Regions from separate parts of the Homo sapiens genome. Here all the other regions are linked to region 3. The links are contacts of gene promoters, found by promoter capture Hi-C in blood cells and fetal thymus (Javierre and others, 2016). All regions are on one chromosome and are shown on one strand. Each heading gives the region's core, a stretch centred on a gene start or on the middle of the fragment in contact. The rest is flanking DNA. Distances are from core to core; before and after follow the strand shown.

The links. The method cuts DNA at HindIII sites, captures the fragments that hold promoters and counts their contacts. A CHiCAGO score of 5 or more calls a contact.
Region 1: a contact is called between a fragment that was not itself captured here and the fragment with the promoter of CALCRL in region 3, in 3 of 17 cell types (M2 macrophages, megakaryocytes and M0 macrophages). The highest score is 10.2, in M2 macrophages.
Region 2: a contact is called between a fragment that was not itself captured here and the fragment with the promoter of CALCRL in region 3, in 1 of 17 cell types (endothelial precursors). The highest score is 5.3, in endothelial precursors.
Region 4: a contact is called between a fragment that was not itself captured here and the fragment with the promoter of CALCRL in region 3, in 3 of 17 cell types (megakaryocytes, M2 macrophages and endothelial precursors). The highest score is 8.9, in megakaryocytes.
Region 5: a fragment that was not itself captured here is called in contact with the fragment with the promoter of CALCRL in region 3 in 6 of 17 cell types (M2 macrophages, megakaryocytes, M0 macrophages and 3 more); the score reaches 16.1 in M2 macrophages.
Region 6: a contact is called between a fragment that was not itself captured here and the fragment with the promoter of CALCRL in region 3, in 2 of 17 cell types (endothelial precursors and megakaryocytes). The highest score is 7.4, in endothelial precursors.

The regions. Positions count from the first base shown.
Region 1 is chr2:187,165,103-187,169,490 of GRCh38, reverse strand. All of the region lies in intron 1 of CALCRL-AS1 (CALCRL and TFPI antisense RNA 1), which reads right to left. Among named protein-coding and RNA genes, the nearest start is that of CALCRL-AS1, 160 kb to the right of the region's middle. The HindIII fragment of the contact is 386 bases long and covers 2,870-3,255 here.
Region 2 is chr2:186,996,816-187,001,262 of GRCh38, reverse strand. It overlaps the pseudogene IMPDH1P7. Among named protein-coding and RNA genes, the nearest start is that of CALCRL-AS1, 4.2 kb to the left of the region's middle. The HindIII fragment of the contact is 3,517 bases long and covers 242-3,758 here.
Region 3 is chr2:187,446,629-187,451,126 of GRCh38, reverse strand. CALCRL (calcitonin receptor like receptor) reads left to right here and starts at 2,875. Exons shown (of 15, transcript NM_005795.6): 1 at 2,875-3,088. All of the region lies in intron 2 of CALCRL-AS1 (CALCRL and TFPI antisense RNA 1), which reads right to left. The HindIII fragment of the contact is 1,657 bases long and covers 1,323-2,979 here.
Region 4 is chr2:187,121,984-187,125,936 of GRCh38, reverse strand. All of the region lies in intron 1 of CALCRL-AS1 (CALCRL and TFPI antisense RNA 1), which reads right to left. It also overlaps the pseudogene RN7SKP42. Among named protein-coding and RNA genes, the nearest start is that of CALCRL-AS1, 120 kb to the right of the region's middle. The HindIII fragment of the contact is 3,665 bases long and covers 595-3,953 here.
Region 5 is chr2:187,143,539-187,148,058 of GRCh38, reverse strand. All of the region lies in intron 1 of CALCRL-AS1 (CALCRL and TFPI antisense RNA 1), which reads right to left. It overlaps LOC124906106 (a long non-coding RNA gene), which reads left to right. Exons shown (of 3, transcript XR_007087543.1): 3 at 3,493-3,568. Among named protein-coding and RNA genes, the nearest start is that of CALCRL-AS1, 140 kb to the right of the region's middle. The HindIII fragment of the contact is 4,297 bases long and covers 255-4,520 here.
Region 6 is chr2:186,979,886-186,984,091 of GRCh38, reverse strand. No RefSeq gene overlaps it. Among named protein-coding and RNA genes, the nearest start is that of CALCRL-AS1, 21 kb to the left of the region's middle. The HindIII fragment of the contact is 2,889 bases long and covers 445-3,333 here.

The DNA of each region.
Region 1 (4,388 bases), core at 1,813-4,312, 280 kb after region 3:
GTGTGTTAATGGAAGAAGTTAAAAAAAAACAAGTGTTTGCTTTTCTTTTCAGTTACATAAGCCTCAACAGACAATTCTCATCAATTCCTCAATTTTTATCTGAATTCTTTATTTTAATTTTTTGATAATAAAAGGTTTTCCTTTGTTTGCTTTGTTGCCTAGGAGATAGGTGACAAAAGAGGAAATGAAACAAATGAAGGCTGTGGAGAAAAGAGAACAGTGCTAATTTTTTTTTTCCTGTTAATTCGAAAACCTAAAAATACATGACTGAAAAAAAAAGAAAGTTGAAGGGAATGTCAAATTATTATTTTGAGGATGTAGCAACAAGAAGAGATCTGGGTAAAATTAGGTAATATGAATTACTGAATACATATTCCTATTCTAACCTCTGATAAGTTGTAGAGATTTTATCCTGGCAATTTTTTCAAACTATTATTTCTAATATCTAAACATGCATTATAGTTATGTATATTTGACTGTTAAAATTATCTAGCAATATACTGACAACTGAAAGTCTAGAATCTGACTAGAAAGAGAAGTTTTATAGCTATTGTGAGTCAGTCGGTTTGCACACAATTCTTTCACTCTGTGAAGATTGTTATCAACATTTTAAAAATGAGAAAATTGAGGCTTAAAGACATAAAAATAACATTGGTGGAGTCTGCATTTGAGAGGCAATGTTAACCTAGTAGTAAGTAAGGAGTACTCTTTAGGGCTAAGACAGGCCTATGACATAATGACATAATCCTGATTCTCTTCCTTACTACCTGAATGACTGATGCTGTGATGCTGGATAATTGACTTAATCTCTCTAAACCTGTTCCCTGCCTTATAATCAGGTGTTATGAAACCTACCTTGAGTTATTCTAAGGATACAAGGTAATGCTAGCACAGTGATCATAAATATTTATTGCTCAAAAATAGCTGTTATTGCTATACTATTATTGTTATTATCTCTCGGTCTGTCTGAGCCCAGTGTTCTTCCCTTACCACTCTGACATTCAAATTGAGTTCCAGAATTTATAGTTTGATATTTAGATTTCTATACTCTACTAGCTTACCATGAGATAAACTTGCTTCCTGAAGGAACAGTAGGTAAAAGCCTCTTTGATCATTCATTGTTCAGAGGTAAATCTCATTACCCTGGTCTGCAGTAAGAATAGGAAAAAAATGGTACTCTCATTTCAACTTATGACCATGGTAACTATCAGAGCTGGTTCTGGGTAAAATTGTGAAGAAAAAAAAAAAAGCTTTGTAAACTTTTCCCTTGTTGTCTGACATTATTCCCTTTAACTCTTAGTGTTATCTGCAGTTATATTTAACCTGCAGCTATATTTTCTAAAAGCCCTTATATTCCTTTTAAAGGAACATTAGTTATCGCTAAGTACCTGGACAATATATTTTCTGGTGCAAGGAGTCAGATACAACCACACAATGAAGGGGCCTCTTCAAAACTGTCAATGTCATAAAAATCAGTAAAATTCTGAAGAACTATTTCAAAATAAAGGCAATTTAAAAAACATGACGAATGCAATCCATGATCCTGAATCAGGAAATAATGTTGCTATAAAAGACAGTAATTTGGACAAAAAAGTTGAAATTTGGATATAAATAAGGTATTAGATAATCAGTTTCTATGAAAGTAACATTTCTGAATTTGATAATTGTACTGTGATTATACAAAAAAATGCGCTTCTTCTTAGACATGCACACTGAAGTGTTTGGAGTGAAGGTCATGATCTCTCGCAGCTTACTCTCACATGGATTACGCCAGAACAAAAAGAAAATAATAATGAGAATGTCCACATCAATATGTCTTGAGCGACATAAAGTGAATGTGGCAAAATGTTAACAACAAATGAATCTAAATGAAGGGTATATGGAATCCCTTGTAATTATATTGCAACTTTAGGTTTGCATTTGTTAAATGAAAAGTGTAATTTAAAAAACATCAAACACCAAAATAGTCTATAGAATAATACAACTACAAAGTAATTAATTAACAAACATAATCTAATTTTTTTAGAAAAAAGCAGAAATCAATAATGATCAAAAATTTGTTTGGGATTTAGTATAATAAATATATTAAGAGACATAAAAGAGAAAAGAAAATTCCTATCTCCAGAAACTTACAATCTAGAAAATAAAGTAGGTATACATAGAAAAAATAAAATATTACAACAGCTTATAAAACACTTTCTCAAGTATAACATAAAATTTCACCTGAATATCAGTATTTCATAAACTGAGTTGTTTTTCCCAGGTGATACTCCATACTACCACTATTATATTGATAGGAATAAAGTAAATTATAATTATTAATAGCTAAAAATTTATGCATCGTATAGAGAACAAACACAAACAGCTTTGAAGTCAGACAGACCTTGGCTTAAATTCCACAGCTACCACTTACTAGTGAGTTGGGCAAGTTACTTGTCCTCTAAAAGCATTTAGTTTTTTCACTTGTAATTATCATAAATTCACAAAGTTATTGAGGAAATCATACAGATTCACAAAACATTGTGGGCATTTAAGAAACACAGCATGCGCCCAATAAATGACTGACATTATTATTGTCACTATAGCTATATCATTTGTCTCAGGACACTACAGAGTTAGCACTCTATTTAGTGGAAGATTACTCTTAATCTTAACTCTTCTAATCATCCAAACTTCAACAAGGATTTATGTATGCTGCCTTTTATCTTACTTTAAGATAAAAAGTAAAAGTCAAATTACTTATATTTAAGTTGACTTTTATAAAACTATAGTAAAGACTATAATTTTGAGAACTCTGGGTTCAAATTAAAAGAGCAGTTGTTTGAGAGTGAAAACAGTTGTTTGTATATTTTTAGTTATTTCAAAAGCTTGATTTTAAATATGAAGAGTGAAAGCATGTTCAGACTTGTAATCCATAAAGTGGAAACAATAAGTAAGTAGAGAAGAGTTGTTTCCTGTCTCTAATTGGTAAGATTTGAAAAAGAAAGCAAAGAAGGGGAAATTAGAAAGAAGATGACTGGATTTTAGGCCCTGGTCAGTATCTGAGAAAGAGGCTCAATGACCTAAGCTCCAGGCTAAGCTCTGGGAATTAACTGGGAAAACAGAAACCCTTATGCATAGGTCTTTATCTCACAGGATTGGAAGATCTAGAGCATGAGAAAACTGTAGCCTAGCATCCTAAATTACTCCAAAATAGCAGTCTGATAAACAGCTACCATTTACACCGTGATTCCTGACCAGCAGAATAGAAAAGCTTAGAGAAACATAAGGATAGATGGAGCTTGAAGGTTGTATGTGGTCCAGGATAATGAGGGAACAGTGGTTGAAATTCCTTGCTCTTCCCCCTCTCAAAAAGCAGAGAATGTCTTAGAGGATTAATGGACAGCAGAAGTTTTGAGGTTGAGATAAGGAGGATTAAATGTTCCCATAGAGGCATTGTTACATTCTAGAGCAATATCTCTAGAGAAGGTAAGAGGAAAACAGAAAGCACAGCTGAGAGGCTAAGAAGCTGGGGAAAGAAAACATTTTTGGCAGTCTCTCAATGCTTAAGACAAAAATTGAATCTCAGAACCATCCAAGAAAGAGGGGTTCTACTATAGACCCTGAATATTTAGTTTGTATCTCCAAAGGATACACCCTAGAAATAAATATGAGCTGGAAATAAACTAACACTCGCAGACTGAAGACCAACTTTGAATCAGTTAAAAGTATAATTGGATTAATTTGCACCAGCTACAACTTAACTACCTACCAGAGTCAAAAGAAAAATCCTCTATGGAGAAAGATAATGTGATCTAAAAACATAAAATCACATCTAACATTTTTTACATACAATAATACTCAATAAAAAACAGGCAGCAGGAAAAATAAATAAATAAATGTAAATAAAAGGAAAGAATTAACTGAAAATAAAATGAAGAGAAAAATCAGCTAATAGATCCACTGGAGATCCATATATTGGAATTTGGAGTAATAATTTTAAAATAATGGAGGTTAATATGCATAAGCATTAAATGACAAAACAAACAATTTCAGCCAAGAACTAGAAACTATATGAAAGAATCAAATGGTAATTCTAGAATTGAAGAATATCTGAAATTAAGAACTCAGTAATGTCTAATATAAAAGATTAGACAAATCTGAAGAGAGAAGCAGTAAACTGGACAGTATCTCAGAAAATAAATCCAATCTGAAGCACAAAGAATGGAATATAAAGAAAAATGTGTAAAGATATACGAGTCATGGTGAAAGAGTCAACCAACGGGTACTTGGATTTCATAAGGAAGAGAAGATGAAGAATGGGATAAGGAAATATTTGAATAAGAAATGGCTTCAAATTTTAAAAAACTGCTAACTACTTCAAGAAGCAGTACAAACTAGCAGAATAA
Region 2 (4,447 bases), core at 751-3,250, 450 kb after region 3:
AGGTATATCATTCCTGCCCTCTCCTCAGCTGCAGTTGAAGGCTCACTTTGCACAGTTTGGGATCACAATTGTATAATTGTGTATTAAATAATCGGAATAAATCAAGCAGGTCTCAACACCTCCAAAAGAAATAATAAAAATAAAAAATAAATAAATAAATAAGAAGTGAAGAAGAAAATTCCCTGGTGTACCCCCAAACTCTGCCTGAATGGAACACATCCAAAGCAGCATAGCAAAAGCTTTAAGAATTGTCTGTGAATCAGCTCCAAAGTCTTATACTAATCCCTGACTGTTTCAGATAACAATAAAGACTTTAAACCCTGAACTGACATTCGAACTAGCACCAGTGGAAGGCAAGATAGAACTCATGGTCTGAACCCAACTGGATTTATTAGTAAACAAAAAAACTTCAGAAGATTTTAACAAGATGCAGACTCTCACAACACATTACTCAAAACTTTGAAGATGCAATGCAAAATTGCTCAACATACAAATAATAAAAAAAAAATTGGACCTGTTTTCCACTGAAACAACAATCAACAAATGTCAAATCTAAGATGATCCAGATGTTGGAAAAAAGACTTTATTGTAGCTATGATAACCATGCTCCATGAGGCAAAGGTGAACGCTCTTGAAATTAATGGAAATAAAGACGTTCTTAACAGAGCAATAGAAACTACTGGAAAAAGAAAAGGGAAAAACTGGACATTTAAAAAGTAAAAAATACAACACAACACTTGAAATTTTAAAATTTCCTAGACAGGTTCAATAAGGAATAGAGATGACAGAGGAAAAAGTCAGTAAACTTAAAAATTGATCAATAAAAATTATCTAGTCTAAATAACAGAGAGAAAAGATTGAAAATGAAAATGGCCAGAGCCTCTAGGGCCTGTAGATAATATAATAACAAGATTCAAAAAATCTAGTAGTGGTGTCATTGGCATCTATGAAGTAAAGGGAAAAACTGATTGGTGAAGAAAAATATTTGAAGATATAGTGGATGAAAAACTTCCTCCAAGTTCAGTGAAAAATATAAATTTACAGAAAAAATTCAAGAAGTTCAGAAAAATAGTTTAAACCCAAACAAGACTTAAGGGAAATTATAACAAAGGGAAACTTGTAACCTTAAGAATGAGGATAAAGCAAAAGAAATGCTTGGGTATCTGAATAAATATAATTTAATGTTTTTCTCCTCTCAGTTTATAAAAATATATATGACTTTTGAAATCAAATTTTATAACATTTCTAGAAAGGTTCCAATGTATGTAAATGTAATGGACATGAGAGAGCAAGTAGATAGAAAATCAGTAAGGACACAGAAGGCATGAACAACACTATCAACCAACTTGACCTAATTGACATTTGTAGAACACTCTTGCCCACTAGTAGAAGAATGCATATTCTCCTCTAGTGCACATGGAACATTCACCAACATAGACCATAAAACACCTCAACAAATTCAGAAAAAATCAAATTATATTTTGTATATATTATACATTATATTTTCCAAACACGAGTAACAGAAAAAAATCTGTAAAGCACCTAAATATTTGAAAATTAAATAAACCATGAGTCAAACAAGTAGTAGAGTGGGAACTTGAAAAATATTTTGAAATAAATGAAAACAAAAATTAACTATGTAAGGAATGAAAGACATGTACTCCCACAGACTCCACAGATATTAAAAGACTAATAGTACCAACAACTCTATGCCCATGATTTAAACAGCTTAAATGTGATAGACCACTTCCTTGAAAAATGTAAAATAACCAAAACTCACTAAATAGTAAATTGTCTATGTCTTCATCTAGTAGAAAATTAAATATTTTATTTAAAAACTTCCAAAAATAAAAACTCTAATCCCAGATGGTAAATTTTACTAAATATTTAACAAAGAAATAATACTAATTTCACATAATTTCTTCCAGAAAAGGAAGCTGAGGCTGAGGGGTATATATTTCCCAACTCATTTTATGAAACCAAGATTACCTTGATACCAAAATCAACAAAAAATATTACAAGAAAAGTAAACTACAATGCACTATTTCTCATGAACATAAACAAAAAAGATCCTCAAAAATCTGAATCCAGTAATATATTTAAAAGATAATATAAAATTATCTTTTACTTTATTTAAATGAAAATTACAATTACTTATTTATTAGAATGCCTATAAAAGAAAACACACAAAAAAACTGACAATGCCAAGTGCTAGCAGAGATGCAAACCAACAGAAACTCTCATACATAGCTGAAGAGAATGCAAAATGGCACAGCCACTCTAGAAAACAATGCCTTATAAAGTCAAACATACACTTAGCATATAGCTCAATAACCCTACATTTTAGCATTTACCTAAGTGTGATAAAAACCCACATTCACACAAATATGGTAATTTTAAAACAAATGTGTTAGTTTCATCAGAAACTGGAAACAACACAAATGTCCCTCACTTGGGGACTAGATAAATAAATGTGATGCATTCATATAATGAAATACTATACAGCAATAAGAAGGAATAAAGTATTGATGCATGCAAGAAATGAATGAATCTTAACTCTATTATTCTAAGAGAAATAAACCTTTTTCCAAAGTTAATATACAGAGTAATTCCATGTATATTATTTTCTAGAAAAGGCAAAAGAAAATTGCAAGAACTCTACATGAAAAAAGAGCAAATTTATGGTACATAAACTTTTTAAATAAATTTTTAAAATACTTTGTGGGTGTTTGAAAACAATTTGCTTCACCTACTTATTGTTTGTAGTGTTCTATATATGCAGCCTGTCATTTTATGAAAATTATGTCAAAATCTCCCACTACAATTGATAATTTGTCCATTTCAACTTTAATACTATTGATTTTCACTTTATGCATTTTTTCAGGATATTATTTGCTTTTAACATATAGGTATTCAGGATTGCTGTATTTTTTAATGAATTAGACCATCACTTTTCCTTAAAGTCCTTTTTGTTTCAAGGCCTATTTTGCCTTTCATTAATATTGCAAAATAGTTGTTGGGTTCATCTTTGCCCGCATATGTTTTCACATTTCACTATTTTCATCTTTTCATTATGATCATGTGTAGGTGTATTTCTCATAAACGGCATGTAACTAGATTTAAAAAAAAAAAAAACAGGTCTCATTCTGTCACCTGGACTGGAATACAGTGGCATAATCACGGCTCACTGCAACCTCCACCTTCTGGGCTCAAGAAATGCTCCCACCTCAGCATCCTGAATAGCTAGGACTACAGGCATGCGCCACCACACTTGGCTAATTTTTATATCTTTTTGTAGAGATGAGGTCTCACTATATTGCCCAGGCTGGTCTCAAACTCCTGGGTTAAGCAGTCTTCCTGCCTTGGCCGCCCAAACTGCTGAGATTACAGGCATGGGTCACTGTACCTGGTCACAACTGGATTTTAAAAATTTAATTTGAAATTACCTATCTTTTAAGAGGTAAATTTATCATTAGCATTTATGTTTTTAATACCTCATTTTGTATTTTATTTTATGTCTCCTGGTTTTTATTTACTTGTTTTTTCAACTCCCAAGTGCTTGGAATACCTTTTTTAAATTTACTTATTGCTCTTTCCTTTATTAAAACTGAATCTTTTATTAGTTTGTGTTTGTTTTAAATTCTATTGCTCTTCTATAGAGTTTATCCTTAAATATGTTACATGCATTCTTGACCTAACAGAGTGAAAATTTAATCACTATCACTAGCTCCCTCCAGAAAATCCGATTTGAGAAAGCTTTAACTCCAGTCATTCATCTCTGATTTTTTCATGCAAGTTGAGCTTTAACTCTAGTCATTTATCTCTGATTTTTTTCATTCAAGTTGAGCTCCATCTTTTTTTTAAAGCGCTCAAAATTAGTCATCACCATTATTTTTATTATTGCTTCTGACATTCGTTGTTTATTTAGATTCATCTACAGGTTAATTCATTTCTTTGCAGAGATGTTAATCCACACTTTAATCAATTTCTTTAATTTTGCATCCTATTCATTGTTCCCTCTCCTTCTTTTTCAAAGTGCATAATTTGATGTTTCCTTTAGATTCTGTGAATAATAATACTAATTACTATTTTCAATTCTAAATTTTCTGAATATTTTTAAATTTTATTTCTACTCTGTTATAACAAAATGTTATTTGGTCCTGGGTACCAGAAACGGATGCTGAGCCTCCTAGATGAGAGAAAAGCACTAAGCATCCCAAGTCTCAATACAATGATTTTTCAGCTCTTCATGTCACCTACCCGTGAAAGGTTTGCTGAAAGGCAATTCTCCTGCAAAACCAGAACTACCACCCTCACTCTTAATTCAGTACAAGATGAAAGTTAGAAAAAGGTGTATTTTTGTGGGATGCACATTCACAGCGAAAAGTTTTTTCTCTCTTCACACACCCCTCCATGTGGAAGAAATGCAATATTTTCCCTTCCTGCA
Region 3 (4,498 bases), core at 1,626-4,125:
GCATCATTACCTCTAGATTCTATGTTAGCAGCATCAGTTGCTAATTTCACAGAATTTGGCCCTTGACTTCTCATGTGCTAGTCAATCTGTTCATTAAAGGACTAGATAGCAGGGAACATTCTATTTTTACTTATCTCACTAAAACACAGTTAGCACATTACCTAGCTCAAAATACAAATTTGGTCACTACTAATTAAATTATTGCAAGTGGCTTTAATGTCTTCTGAAGAAAGATTATAATATATAAATCCATATAATGCCACGTTGGCTCAAAATTGCTTCATTGATTATTGAAATGTTTTCATTTAGCTCTGCTACAGTTTTCCAAACATTTGCCTTCATGTTTCAGTAGGTATTAGAGAAGTTTTTATGATCTATCTTATCACTTGCTCCTACATAACTTAGAATACCCTGAATGCCTTCCTGGAAGTCCTTGTACCATTTATTTTTTCTGAAGTTTATAAAATGGCAGCTCTTGAGGATTACTAGGATGCAATTTTCCTGTTATGTCTAAATAAGAATTAAAGATGATATTAATAAAATTTATCAAGGAGTCTTCATGGACTACAGCCATGGGCCCATGTGTACGTCAACTTAAATATAAATGATACAACTTCTACTAGACACCCCATAAAGTATAGCACTTGATAGAGAGTAGAAGAGAAAGAGCATTGGATTAAGGGTCTTATGACATGAGCTCAAAACATGAATTTTTTTCCTTCAGTAGACCTTACTAGTATTGGGCAAATGAAATCAATGAATCTCACCAGGCGCAGGGGCTCATGTCTGTAATCCCAGCACTTTGGGAGACCAAGGTGGGCGGGTCACCTTAGGTCAGGAGTTTCAGACCAGTCTGGCCAACATAGTGAAACCCTGTCTCTACAAAAAAATACAAAATGTTAGCTGGGTGTGGTGGCGGGCGCCTGTAATCCCAGCTACTTGGGAGGTTGAGGCAGGAGAATTGCTTGAACCCGGGAGGTGGAGGTTGCAGTGAGCTGAGATTGCGTCATTGCACTCCAGCCTGTGCAACAAGAGCAAAAACTCCATCAAGAAAGAAAGAAGGAAGGAAGGAAGGAAGGAAAGAAAGAAAAATGAATCTTTGGAAAGACGAAAATATCAATGCTTTTATAAACATATTGGGAAAAGTTTTAGTTTTCCATGATTTAATTAAATTCAAAAACTATATATTAATCTCTTTATAGGATTCATATATTACACTTAGCATGGAAGATGAGAAGACATGACCCATTATTACTTTCATATTAAATCTAGTATTTGTTTTTCTCTGAATTTCAAGATGGGAACATGAAGCCTAAAAAGCTTTGTCAAGATCACACCAGACAGTATCAGAACCGGTTCACCAGTGTAACTCAGTTTCTTACAAGTCTTTTCTATTAACCATAATTATAGAGATGAAAGTATATCTATTTTTTATATGTCTGTATTTTGTAATCAATATTGATCTCACTGGTCTTAAAATCAAAGATTGTATAAACATTTTCTTCCACTAATTCAGACAATAAAAATGTCAACATGAGCACCCTGCTTTAAAAACATGATATTCCTGAATTTATTTTGCCTTTACCTCCTTTGTCTGCCTACAAGGTGTATGGCACCTCATTTTATCCTGGAATTGCACTAACAATTTACTAAGAGTTGAATGATCCTCACCGTATCTTATCTATTTCAAAATGTTATGAAATTTGTCGATTCAAAGCCTTAGACATAAAATCTATCTCTTCTAGTTTATAGATGAGAAAATTTATGCCCTGATAAATTAAGTGACTTTTAGTGCTGTTTAGGTTATAGGGATTATAATTATTGCTTCATATCGAACATTTACCAAATTATAAAAATGATAAAAGCATTTTAAATTTACATTTTCCCCTGATCATATCCAATGATGTATTAAACATATTCAGGAAAAACTATGCTTTGAGATGAAATTTTGTCTAAGAAATAAAGTATCCTTTGTATTTATATTATTTTATAATATTATGTTTACAACATCTATATTTTCTTTAAGATTATATTGACTTACAAATATTGTGGTATAAATTATTTTATATTATAAATAACATAATTATACCAAATATTTTTAAATGTGTGCAATAATTTTAAAATTATGAATTATTCAAAAGGCTATTTTGTCAAATATATATACTTATATATTATAAAAGAAACACTCTATACACACACATACACAACCTGAATTTATAACACATACACTCATGTTCTTATGAAGAAGGTAAAGGAAAAAATAAAAGATTTAAAAACTGCAGGATAAAGTTTCTTGATCTAATTAACTGATTAGGAACTGCACTTAGGAACTGATGGAGGAACAGCACCCAATTAGCAGAGCTCCAAATTAAGAAGAGCCAAATCACAAAACCAGTTATGATGAATACAGTTAATTTTTTTTTCTGTGTTGTGCTATGAACACAGATTTGTTAGATTTTTTTTCCTGGATACTTTGTAAGCTATAATTCAACACACACACACACACACACACACACACACACACACACACGCCTAACTCCTTTGATTCTTTGAGCAGAATACTATATTCAGATTTCCTTCAAATCACAAGTAGCTTGTTTGGCAAGTTCTAACAGAACTCAGTCAAGGTGAAAGCCAGCCAGCTTTTTACTGGTAACAATGTATTCACACAGCCTATGATCTCTCTCTGTTCAGGCTGCTTCTTGCTCTTGTCTCACAATAAGAAAGGAGTGCTGCTTTCCTGGGGTATGCTATTTGAGAAAGAAAGTAACCTAACACTAACTGCAGGCGGGGTCAGAGTGATGTAACAGGAAGCTCTGATGTTTCCCTTCTGCTGCTGATCACTTACAATCTGACAACACTTACAATCTACTCAGAACAACCTCTCTCTCTCCAGCAGAGAGTGTCACCTCCTGCTTTAGGACCATCAAGCTCTGCTAACTGAATCTCATCCTAATTGCAGGATCACATTGCAAAGCTTTCACTCTTTCCCACCTTGCTTGTGGGTAAATCTCTTCTGCGGAATCTCAGAAAGTAAAGTTCCATCCTGAGAATATTTCACAAAGAATTTCCTTAAGAGCTGGACTGGGTAAGTGCACATTCAAAATAAATATATTTATTCTAAGTAGTATTCTCATATAGTTTGGCAATGTTTCTATTATAGAATTTAGTAGATAGCACTGAAATAATGTTGAAACATAGTCTCACTTATTTCACATGCTAGAGAAAATACAGCCTACTACCCCAACATGAATACAAAATCTAATACTACTAGATAATATTGTTTACCATGGTATTCTAGAAAATAAATTTAGCAAGTATTAAAAATCTAAATGGATTAAAAGACATATTTCTGAACAAATACCTTAATCACAGAACAATGTCTTTTAAAATTAGCTCTAATATTAGCTAAGCTTGAATCTTGACAACTGGAAAACATTTCTCCCCCCGGAAGGGTCTTTAAACTTTCCATGTTATCAGCTGTAAGAAAGAGGTGAAAGAATAACTACTTAATGGGTCTCGGAGTCTCACTTACTCTGTGGTTGATCATAATGCAGAGTTTTGAAAAGTAATCACTTTGTATTTATTACATTTGCTTTTATTTGCCTTTCACCTTTATTTACACATATATCTGTAACTACTGAACTAATTTTTGTGTTCATTGTTGCCAGATGTGTTTAAATCTCTCTTCTGCTAACCCTGAACTGTTTGCTCTTTATTTGGATCATGGTGTCGGCTACAAAGAAAAAAAAAAACCTAGAGTTTAGGAAATGTAGATTTTTAAAACAATTCTTAATTTTGAAATCTTTAAGAGAATACTTCAACTTGACTGGTTCCCCTCTGCAAGCTTTTGGAGGGGGGTGTGATACCACGATATCTGTGGATAAAGAAACGTGACAGCTTTCCCAAAGAAGTATATTAGACGATTAAACAAAGAAATTAAAGTATTTATTAAAAAAGAATTTCCAGGATGGAACTTACTGAAATGTTGGATAAAACATCTGTTAATGCTCATTCCGATAGTACAGACTGTCCTGAACAATTTAAGAAACTAATGTCTGCTTAATAAATTGTTTGTGTAGATATATCACAAATTTGTTGCTGGAGAAAGTTTGATGTCAAATTTTAAATGATGTTGATAGATATGATTTTTAAGTTATATATTTTCTTACCTAAATGCAATTATACTTTCCAAGATGTCCTGCATTGGAAGCATCCTGTACTTAATCACTTATATCTGGCACATTAATAATAGACTACAAACATCCTGAGTAACTCCTCAGTAATTTACAACTCAATTTTTCCACAAATTCCTCAATATAATGAAAATTTAAATTAATTCTTAGATTTGTGATTCTTTAAGAGTATCATGGCTGATTTCTCTCTCTTTTCAATCTTCAGTTGTACTGAGTTCCCTGACACATGTGTAGAAATGGGAAAAGTGTTTTTAGAATGTGACTTTAGCCATTATATAAATGGGGGAGAAAGTGGAAACAAC
Region 4 (3,953 bases), core at 1,178-3,677, 320 kb after region 3:
TTTATATTACAATCTCTCTTTTCTGAAAATTATGCCTTAAGATTTAGACCTTAGTGGCTTCCTTCATGTGACATGATGGTACATTGCAAGTGGAAATTGACAGAATCACAGAATTAGAATTTAGAATCTAACATAAAGATTCTTCTAAAATGTGCCCATTATATGTACTTCCTTAGCCATGGAATTTGATGTTCAAATTTAGAATTAAATTAATCTCACCCTTGGACAAAAAAGATTTTTCTCAGAACTAAAAAGTAATAAATTGCTTCATAGTTGAGCCTTTGCAGTAAGTTTTCCTTTAACTTCATGAGAAATGTAACTAAACTGTTCCTAGACACTTCTAAATAAAAATCTTTAAGATGAGAATGGTAACATTAAAGTAAGCAAAGTCATTCTGGGCCTTATTTCAGGTTCTTTGGGCCAAGGCAAAAAATGAAAATCAAGCTTGAGTATTAGGTCTCTTTCTAAATGGAAAAAACTCATCAGTTAAAAACAAAACATAGCTAGGGTAAATGGAAAAAGATAAAAATGACCACCCTTTTATTTTATATCTCTGTGAAGTGATTCCTAGCTCTTGAAGTTGCCTTGCAAGCTTTTCTCCCCTTCCCCTCTTCTAATCACACAATCCTGAAGACTTCCTGGAAGGCAAACTGTGAAATCCACAGGTAAGAGAGCATTGACAATAGTATGAAGAAAAATAAAACCAGACTAAAATTCCTCACCTGTGGGTTATTTTAATTAAACATTTCTGATGTATGAGTGTTAAAAATACAAATGTAAGCAATTTACCCCTGGAAATGAAGACGCTGTATCCAATAAAAATAGAGACCATGTTTTGTTTTGTGATCATGTGTTTTTTAGCTAAAGTTAACTATGAAAAAATGGCTTTATCAATAGAATGATTGACTAGAAAGAAAAAAATCCGTGATAGATATATGCATAGTACGTGTGTGTGTGTTTGCATGACATCATTTTAATAAAAACTACAATTCGAAAGTCTGATAGCTCTGATAATTAACAATGGGAGTTAGTCCATTGTAAACTTGTGTCTGGGTTTTCAGTCTCCTTCCTTGTTTAATTATAAGCAAATTCCAATTTTACTGAGGCCAGTTGGAATTCACTACTGGGAATACAGATTATGTTAACTGATGTGAAGCCCTGTGATCCTGTTACATCTCTGTGTAGCCAAAACGCCTGCCCTGCTCGAGTCTTTTGCACTAGAGGCTGACCCGTCCATGTAGAAATGAACTATAGTAAACTCACTGACATCAGAGGTGAGCCTGGCTGATATCACTGGGTGTGACAAAAGACATCTCAATTTGTAAAAATTAAAATGTCATTCTTTTATGAATAATGTGTGAAAGCAAAAAGCATTTCACAGTCCTGTTTTTTCTTGCAGAAATTTTTAGAGAAAAAGTACAAGATATGCTCATAGAAGGGAGGCAAGATCTGATCTGCTGGATTAGGCAAATAACCCCTAACTGAGGCAAATATGCTTTGTTTGTATTCATTTCTATTTCTTAACTCTAACATCATTTATTTATTGAATAAATATTTTATGACCAGAAATTATGCACTAGATGCATTAATAATAAAGAGATAGGTATTAAAAATGTGTTTGCTCACTAAGTTTTGAACACAGGTAAAAAATCCTTTGAAAACGATTGGATGGTGGGTTACAGAGAATTTTACAATTACACAGTGACACTTCACCTAAGCTGAGTCTTGAAAACTGAGCTGGGGGAAAACTAAGATACTACCATTTGCCAAAAATAGAGAGAAAAGAAAGTTTAGGAAAGTACCTATACCCAGGAGTGATAAAAGTGCACAGAAAATGTGGGAAGATAGCAGAAACAAAGCTGAAGATGTGGGCAGTGGCAAGTCACAAAATCTCGTTCACTAAGTTAAGGAATTTGTATTTTATCCTGAAGTTGACAAACTTTGCAAAACTTACAGTTCTTGAAGACTGAGGTCATGCATAGTTTCTACTCCCAGAAAATGAATTCCATATTCTTCTTTAGAAATACTATTTTCCATATTTTTGATAACAATATTATACCATAGACCTCATTGGCTGTATTATTCCTAGATCATTTAACATTTTAACTACCGTTTGTGTATTCTTCTGCATAATTATGAGGAAGGAGACTACATCCCTGATTCTTTGAAAATGTAAATCCTTTTCAGTAGTTTTTAACAGCCCTAAGACACCCTGGAATAATATTTTTTCTAATTTTTCCTTTTTTCTTATCTCTCTTAACAAAGTTTGTGTTGGCTATTGAAAGAAATGAAGAAAAAAATACTGGTTTCAAAAGATATTTTAAGACAGAACTAAAGAGATAAGCAATATCAAGTGATGATCTTCCATCACTTCATTCTTGTTTTCCAGGAATTTCAACATCATTTGCATGTGACAGATTGGATACACACTATAAACTGAGTCACATCAGTCTTTTTTGTTAGAAAAAAAGTTTACTTAAAATATAGACATCATAAGTTATGGGAAATATAACCCTAAACTGAAAATTGGGGATTCCTTCGTGTAAATTCTGGTTCTGTTACACAGCAATAATATAACTCTTGTTAATTCACTTAATGAGGGGAATCAGAATTGGATTTTAACATTTCATCTATATCCAACATGTAGGGTGCTATTAGCTCAGGAGAAAATGTAATCTCAGAATGTGATGTCAAAAATTTTACTCTAAACTTGAAATAAAAAACAACATAAAATGCATATATAAGTGATATACTGCAGGCATCCACCCTAGTATTTGGTAAGTAAATATATCACTAATGAGAATAGGGTGTCTTTCAAGCCTAGTAAGAAACTTAGTACTGAAGTAATTTAAAAGACCTATATTTTGACTAATTCTAGTATTCTAAAGTCAATATTGGCTTAAACTATTTGTACAATTAAGATATGTTTAATTTTCTTTTCTTCATGAAAATGTAGAACTTACTACAATAATGTATTTTCATACTGGTACACGAATTGTATTGTATATGTTAACATGTAGTTAAATTTCTTTGAAAAAAATCTAGTGATGCAGATGAATATTTCAAAATAAACTAGTGAAGGTCATCTGGCTGCAACATCGCTCCATTGATCACCAGGGTTGTTTGGGCTGATCTGTCTGGCTAGGCAGGTGCCCCTTTCAACCTTACTGTTCCATGTGCATCCCTTCTGAAGCTGAGAGCTTAGTCAAAGAGAGCAACCTTCCCAGATAGAGGAGGACTGTTCATCATCCAGGGTGTACTGGTAGTTGTGCTACTGTGCTAGAACCTCCAGATAAGCTCTCAATATAAACCAGTGATTCTGAGAAATAGTTATATTTAAAAATAAATTGTTCTCCTGATTAGTATATTGCTTTAAATAAAGGCTCTGATGCACATTTTCATCTCTAATTTGTGAAATCTAAAATGTAGTTCACTGGAAATACAAAATGACCAAAAGAAAAATGTTTCCACAGATGAAATTCACTAAATAATTTTAGACTGACTTTTCAGCTCCTTGAAATAATGTTATTTCATCTCTCATTTTAAAGAAAAAGTAAACAATAAAAAGAAACTGCATATGTCACCAGAGAAATAAGGATGACAGAAATATACATGAAAATAGTTTTATAGGACATTTAAAGAAGAGTATATTTTTTATTTTCTATATTTAAAAACAGTGCTATCTAGAGTTAAAATGACTAGATTTCAGAGACTGAGCAAGTAGAAATTGAATGTGCTGCAGTTTTCAAAGGGCTTATTAGAAAACATACAAATATATCAAATTTGACAATGTGTAGATGTAAAGTGTGGCTATAGACCACAATATCCCCAAAACTTCTGATTTAGGAAGGAAAATTAGACAAAGGAGGAAGAACAGAGAGAAGAAATTTCATGGCTGGAAAATTTACAAATTAGGTTAAACAATTTGTTTTGACTTACATTTCCACTTATTT
Region 5 (4,520 bases), core at 1,154-3,653, 300 kb after region 3:
TGCAATTAATCTACCACATGTTTATACTTAATATCAGTAATCTGATAATTTTTGTATCTCAGTAAGCATACAGATTCTACTTATTTTTAATGATTCCACAGTATGCAAACATATGGATTCCTCACAATTTCTTTACAAATCTATAACATTTATAACTTTGTGAATTTAGATCTACCACTTTTACTATAACAAAACTTTTACTTAAAAAATCATAAGCATACAATCTGTATATTGACCTTGTATCTGGAAAAGCTTGCTAAACTCACTTATTAGTTCTAATCACTTTTGGTGGATTTCTTAGGCTTTTAGAATCATGTTATCTTCATACAGAAATAATTTTACTTCTTCCTTTTCAATCTGGATGACATTATTTTCTTATCTAATTGCCTTGGGTAGAACCTTAAGTATAGTGTTGAATACAACGCGTCAGAGTGTACATCCTTGTCTTGTTCCTGATCTTAAGGAGAAATCTTCAATCTTTTACCATTAAGCATGCTGTTAGCTGTGGGTTTTGTGTAGATGCTCTTACCTCATTGGAGATCCTAGGCTGTTGAGTGTTCTTATTATGAAAGGATATTGGATTCTGTTAAATACCTTTTCTGCATATATTAAATAAGCACGCAGCTTTCATTAATTATTCTATTAATATGGTGAATTACACTGATTGATTTTCATGTGTGAATCAATCTTTTGCTTCTGAAATAAATCCCACTTTTTTCATATTGTGTAATACAATGTACATGTTGCCAGATTTGGTTTGCTAGTATTTTGTTGAAGACTTTTTAATCTATATTCACAGAGGATATTTGTCCATAGTTTTCTCATGGTGTCTTTGTCTGGTTTAAGTATCAGAGTAATATTGATCTCATAAAACAAGTTCGGAAATATTCTCTTCTCCTATTTTTCATAAGAGTTTATGAAGGATGGATATTAAATCTTGGTTAAAATTTGGTAGAACTGATCAGTTAAGCCATCTGTGATGGTTTTGTTTGGGCGGGGAAAGGGGGTAGGTGGGTCAGTTTAATTCTTGTAGGACTATTTAGAATTACTATCTTTTCTTGAGTCAGTTTTTGTAGTTTCTTTCTAGGAATTTTCCACTTCATCTAAGTTATCTAAAGCATTATCATACAATGGTTCATAGTATTCTCTCATAATTCTTTTTATTTCTGTAATAACTCCTCTCTTTCATTACTGATTTTAGTAATTTAAGTATTTTCTATTTGTTTCTTGGTAAATCTAGCTAGAAATTTGTCAATTTTGGTGATCTTTTTAAGGAACCAAATTCTGGTTTCATTTCTTTTTGCTACTTGTAAAATATTTCTATCTTATTTATTTCCACTACTAATTCTTACTTTTGTCTACTTTTGGAGGGTTTAGTTTATGGTCACTTTTTTAATTTATTAAGGTGGCTGCTTAGGTTATAGATTTAAGATCTTTTTCTCTTTTTTAGGAAAGGCATTTTCAGGTATAAATTTTTCTCTAAGCACTACTTTAGCTGTGTCCTGTAAGTTTTGGTATGTTTTATTATCTTTTATATTCACCTCAAAGTTAATTTTTACGTATTTATAAATTTCCCAAATCCTTTCCATTATTGGTTTCTAATTTTATTCCCTTCTATTCAGGTAATGTGCTTTGTGTTATTTCAATCATTTTATATTTTTTATATTTGTTTTATGGCTAAACATATGGTCTATACTAGAGAATGTTCCATGTACACTTTAGACAGATGTATATTCTGTGGTTGTTGGGCATTCTACAGACGTCTGTTAGGTCTAGTTGGTCTATGGTGTTATTCCAGTATTGTATTTAATTGTTCATCCCTTGTCTATTTGTTCTATCCATTATTATAAATGGAATACTGAAGTGTATAACTATTATAGCTGAATTGTCTATTTCTCCATTCAGTTGTGTAGTATTTTGCTGCATGTATATTAGAGTTGTTGTTAGAGCCATATATGTAAATTCTTGCTCATTCTTGATAGATTGAGCTTTTTATCATTATGAAATATCTGCTCTTCTCTATAATAACATTTCTTGTTTAAAGTCAATTTTTCTGATATAGTTAGTTATTCCAGTTCTCTTAAGGTTGCTATCATAAGGCACTGTTTTTTGGTTGATATATGTTTTTATTGCTGTATGTTCTTGGTGGATTGAGCCTTCTATCATTATCAACATCCTTATCTCTTACAATAATTGTGTCTAAAGTCTATTTTATCTTAGATTAATATAGCCACTCAAGCTCTTCTTTGTTTACTATTTGCTTGGAGTATATTTTTCTATCCTTTTACATATAATCTATTTGAGTCTTTGAATCTAAAGTAAATCTCCTATAGAGGATATATAGTTAGATCATGTTTTTTTAATCTGTTATGCCAATTTCTGCCTTTAGATGGAATAATTAATCTATTTATACTTAATATACTTATTGACAAGATTTACATCGGCTATTTTACTATTTGTTTTCTGTGGCTTTTTTATTTTTTGTTTCTCTATCCTCCACTAATGCTTTATTTTATATTAAATATTTTCTAACCTATCTTGTCATTTTTTATACATTTTTTGAGCTTTTTGTGGTTTCCCTGGGATTACAATTAATATTTTAACCAATAACCCTCTAGTTTGAATTAATACCAACTTAACTTCAGTAATATACAAAAACTTTGGTTCTATATGTCTCCATTTATTTCCTGTTCCTTTGTGTTTCTGTCATATAAATTTATGTATATATCCATCAACACAAGTTTATAATTATTGCTTTATGAATTTGTCTTTTAAACTAGATAGGAGATTTTAAAGAGTTACAAACAAAACACACATATTGTACTTTATGTTTCCCTTATAGTTACCTTTACTGATGCTCTTTATTTTCTCATGTGAATTCAATTTACTTTTTAGTGTCCTTTCCTTGAAATGTGAAGGACTCCCTTTTAGTTAAGAGTTTTCTAAGAAATTATTTTAGGGTGTCTTCTAGTATTGCAGGGTGAATTCTCTCAGTTTTAATCTGTAAATTTCTTACTTTTTCCTTCACTTTTGAATAACGGTTTCAATGGACTTAGAATTCTTGGTTGACAATCATTAAAAATTTACTTTAAATGTGTCACATCAGTGCCTTATTACCTCCATGGATTCTGATGAGAAATCAGCTGTTAAATCCAATTTAGGATTCTCATGTTGATGAGTTGCTGCTCTCTTGCTGCTTTCAAAGTTCTCTTTCTCTTTCTATAGTTTGATTATTATATGCCTAGATCTGAATATCTTTTAGTATATTCTACTTGGAGTTCATGGGCTTTCCTGGCTGTGTAGGTTGCTGTTTTTTATAAAATTTTGAAAGTTTTTAATGATTATTTCTTGAAATATTATTTTGCCTCTTTTTCCCCACCTCTGCTCCTTCTAGAATTTACATTGTGCATATGTTTGTACATTTTATGGTGTCACATAAGTCTCTAAGGCTTGCTTAATTTTTATTCATTTCTTTTCTGTTTGTTCCTCAAGGTGGATGATCTCAATGGACCAATATTCAAGTTTGCTGACTCTTTCTGACAACTCAAATCTGCTTCAGTACCTCTCGTGAATTCATTTCAATTATTGTACTTTTCAACTCTAGTGTTTATTAGTATTCTAAATTTGAGGAGACATTGCTTACACATTTTCCTTCAATTCTTAGACATGGATTCCCTTAGTTTTTGAACATATTAAAAATAGTTAATTTAAAATATTTAACTAGTAAGTCTAACACAGCTTCCTCAAAAATAGTTTGTATTTACTACTTCTTTATTCTTGTGTAGAGGCCATTGTTTCTTATTTGCATGTCTCATAATTTTTTTGAAAACTGGGCATTTAAAATAATATAACATGGCAACTCTGGAAATTAGAGCCCCCTTCTCAAGGGTGTATTGTTGTTATTCCTGTGTTGTCATTTGTTGTTGTTGTTTGTTTAGTGACTTCCCTGGACTAATTCTGTAAAATCTATATTCTTTACCAAACTGGCCACTGATATCTCTGCTCAATTAACTTAGTGGTCAGCCAATTTTTGAACAGAAAAATCCTTAAATTACTCAAACCAATCAGTTTTCTCAGGCTCTGCATGTGTATTGGGGTGTCTCTTTAATACTTAGAAGTTTAGACAGCTCTAAACATGTTAGAGCTAAAGACACCTATGACAACATCTCCTTCCCCAGTTCTTCTTTTTAATATTTCTGGTCAGCTTCTTATTTGCCCACCTGATAGCTCCGCCTCAGGCAGCTACAATGTCAAACTATTATCACTGATTTTTCACAAATATTTCCAGTGAAAATGCTGTTTGCAATGAATAAGTGCTGATTCAGGTAAAATAAGGACAAGTCCTGTGAGTAAGGGTTTTCAGGGAACCTCCAGAAAATTAATGACAATTAATTGAGAATAATGCTTTGGAGGATCTCCAAATCTGTTCTACTCACTGCAGTGATCGATAAGCTATTTTCTACCTCCATTGCAGAGCTATTGATTTTCAAGATTGTGATCAAGCTAGGGAGAGTGGGACG
Region 6 (4,206 bases), core at 640-3,139, 470 kb after region 3:
GGAGGCCGAGGCAGGTGGATCACTTGAGGACAGAAGTTCAAGACCAGCCTGGCCAACATGGTGAAACCTCGTCTCTACTAAAAATGCAAAAATTAGCTAGGCGTGGTGGCACAGGCCTGTAATCCCAGCCCCTCGGGAGGCTGAGGCAGGAGAATTGCTTAAACCAGGGAGTTGGAGGTTGCAGTGAGCCGAGACTGCGCCACTGCACTCCAGCCTGGTGACAGAGGGAGACTCCTCCTCAAAAAATAAATAAATAAAATGTGATGGGTAAGGCCAGGGAGTAGAGAAAGGGCAGTAAGGCACCATGGGCAAGAGCTGGTAGGTTTTGACAGCAGATTGAGGCCAGGAAATTAAAGCCAGCTGGGTAAGAACAAGAGGATAATGGCGAGAAGTTATGTCAGGTAGATAAGGCCAAGACATTTAGTAAGGACAAGAAATTAAGCTTAGGTCAGTAAGGGCAGGAATTTCATAGAGCCACATGAATGAAGTTTGTTTAATAATGCCATGAGGGTAAAGTAATTAAGAAAACGAGGTTAATAACATCTGGTGAGTAAGGCCAGGTTGTTAAAACCACGCATTTATATTTAGCTGAATAAAAGGCTATTTGGGTAGCCCCGGGCCAGTAAATCAATGGAGACATTCCCAGTAGGTTAAATGCCAAGTTGCCAAGCCAGCTAAATGATGAAAGGAAACTAATACTAGGTGGGCAAGACAGTGCGGGGAAGGTGAGGAAGTGAAGGTCTGCTGAATAAAACGAGGTAGTCAACACCAGATGGGTATGAGCCCAACAGATTAAATCATGTTATGCCAGCTGAGGCCAGGCAGGTGAATACAGCAGGTGAGTATGGCTGTCGGGTTAATAATGTTGGTTGCAGAAGGCCTATTGGGTGAAGCCAGTACTTGCACAAGGCCAAGTGGGTAAGGACAAGAAAATACAGTCATGTGGGAAGGCCAATAGGTAAAGGCCAGGAAAGTAAAGCCAGGGGCTGGGAAAGCTGATAATGACACTAGGTTAAGGCCAGTAGGGGTGGGACAGCTAAATAAGACAAGAAAATTGAGACTAATTGTGAAGGACAACAGGGTAAGGCTGGGTAGGTAAAATCAGCTGGGTAATTCTGGTTGGTAAGGACATGATGTTAAGGCCCGTAGGGTAAGGCCAAGTGGGTAAGTCAGATTCACAAGGCCAGGGGATTAATATTGAATGAGTAAGGCCAGGAGGTTCATAAGGCAGGTGGGTAAATCTAAGTTGGCAAAACCATGAGGTTAAGGCCGGGTCAGGAAGCCAAACTATTTAAAAAGCCAGATGGGTAAGACCAGCAAGTTAAGATCTCCCTGAATACAACTAGGTGGCTGAGTTTAAGTGGGTAAAGCAAAGAGTTTAGGCACATTAGGCCAGAAGGTTAAGGCCATGTAAGTTAGAATGGAACGTTAAGGCCAGGCAGGAAGGCCAGGGAGGTAAGCTAAGTTGGTAATCCTGGATGGTAAGGCCATGAGGTTAAGGCCAGGTGGGTAAATCCAGATGAGTAATGCAAGGTGTCTATGTCCAGGAATCTCAGGAATAAGTAAAGGGTGATAAGTTTAGGGGAGTGAACCTAGGGAGGTAAATCCAATGGGTTAAGCCTTCGTAGATACAACTAGAAGGTTAAGGACAGAAGATTTATACTAGATGAGTAAGGCCAAGAGTTTCATAAGGCAGGTGGGTAAATGTAAGTTGGCAAAAACGTGAAGTTACAACCAATTTAGGAAGCCAAGTGATTGAATAGTCTGGGTGGCTTAGGCCAGTAAGTTAAGGCCTTCCTAAATAGAGCTAGGTGGCTAACTCCACCTGGGTAATGTGAAGAGGTTAATAGAGGTTAATACTAGGTAAACAGGGTCAGGATGTTAAGGCCACATGACTTAGAATGAAAGGTTAAGGTCAGGTGCGAATGCCAGCTTACTAAGCTAAGTTGGTCATCTAGATTGGGAAGGTAATGAGTTTAAAGCCAGGTGGGCAATGTAAAATGTCTAAATAGGGCACTGTGGCTGCAGCTGGAGCAAGGAGTTGGTGGTAAAACTAGGGAAAAAGGGAATGTTGATGATAAAACCAAAGGAGAAAACCTAGAGAGATAAATCCAGGGGCTTAATTCCTGTTAGATAAAACCAGAAGGCTAGGGACAGTTGCAAAAACCAAGGTGGAGGCCATGTTCATCATGTATAATCAGTAAGACTAGGTGGGAAAACTAGGTAGCTAATCCAGGTTATCAAGGCCTTGAGGTTAAGACCCATAGGGTTAGGCCAGGTAGGGAAGTCTAATCGGGTCTGGCCAGGGCCATAAAATGATGTGGATAAGGCCAGAAAGAAAGGGCAGGGGAGCAATGGCAGGAGCTTCATAAGCCACGTGGGTAAACCTTAGTGAGTAAAATCAGCTGGGTCTTGACAGGAGATTGAGGCCAGCGAATTAAAACCAGGTGAGTAAGAACACGTGGACAATGGCAGGAAGTTATGGCCAGGCGGGTAAGGCCAGGATTTTTAGGCAAAGTCATGAACACTGGGCAAGTAGGGCCAGGAAGTTAATAAGGCCAGATGGATAACGTCAAGTTCGTCATACAATGAGGATAAAATAAGGTGATGAACGCAATCAGATTAAGGTTGGCTGAGTTCGGCCTGGTTGTTAAAACCAGGTGTCTAAATACAGCTCAATTAAGGACTATTTCAGTAACCCAGTCTGTGAAATCAACAGGGGAAACACCTGGTAGGGTTAAGAGCAAGTTGCCAAGCCAGTCATATGATGACTAGAGGAAACTGTTAGGTGGGTAAGACTGTGGGGAAGGTAAGGATGTAAAGGCCAGCTGAATAAACCAGGTGGTAAACACCAGTAGGGTATAAAGCCAGCAGATTAAGTCATGCTGGCTGGGGCCAGGCAGCTGAAGAGGGCAGGTGAGTATGGCTATAAGGTTAATAATATGGTTAACCAGGGGTTAAGGACAGCTGTATACACCAAGTGTGAAGGCCACGTTTGGTAAGACTAGGTGGGAAAACCAGGCAGTTAATCCAATTTGTTAAGGCTATGAGGTTAAAGCCCATAAGGTTAAGCCCAGTGAGGGAGGCTCCTGGGGTCTCACCAGAGAGGGCGTTAAGCCCAGGGTATAAGGACAGAGGAGTAAGGGCTCGTGGGTAAGATCAGGTGCATCTTGATGGCAGATTAAGACCAACAAAGTTAGCCAAGTGGGTGAGAATAGGTGAATGACGGCGGGAAATTATGGCGAGGTGGGTAAGGCCGAGACTTTTAGGTTAGGCAATGAAGCCTGTGTCAGTAAGGCCAGGAGTTTGATATAGGGCCACATGGATTAAGCTTGTCTAACAACACCAGGAAAATAAGGTGATTGAGGCAGTGAGGTTAATAAGTCTACTGAGTAAGGAAAGGTTGTTAAACCAGGTGTGTAAATCCAGCTGAATAAAAAACTATTTGAGTAACACCAGGCCAGTCAATCAAGGAGAAACAGCCAGGAGCATTAAAACCTAGTCACTACGCCAGCTAAATAATGACAGGAGGCTAATATTGGGTGGGTGAGACAGTGAGAGGAAAGCTAGAAGGTGAAGGATAGCTGAATAAAGCTAGATGATTAAACTCAGATGGATATGAGGCCAGCAGATTAAGTCATGCTAGTTGAGGCTGCGAAGGTGAATACGGCAGGTAAGTAAGCCTGTAAGTTTAATAAAGGACAAGTAGTTAAGTCCTAGTGAGTAAGGCCAGGTGGGTAAGACCAGGTGGGAAAGGCCAATAGGTGAAGACCAGAAGAGTAAGGCCAGGGGAATATCCAGTGACTAATGACACTAGGTAAAGGCCAGTGGGGCTAGGACAGGTAAGCAAGACCTGAAGGTTGAGTATAATTGTGAAGGCCAACTGGTTAAGCCTGTTAGTTGGGTAATCAGGTTGGTAAGGACATGAGGCTAATGCCAGTAGGGTAAGTCCAGGTTACCAAGTGTTCAACCTGGTGCATAAGGCTTGGAAAGTAATACCGGATGATTATGGCCAGGATGTTAATAAGGCAGATGGGTAAATCTAGGTTGATGAAACCGTGATAAGTCATGCTGGGTGAGACCAGGCAGGTGAGTATGTATCTGTGAAGCTCTTAGTGCAGCACATATAAGGCCTTTATGTCAAGTTAGTGCCCCTCTTACATTATCACCATCGTGGTCTACTGGAGTCACTGGGACTAACTTACC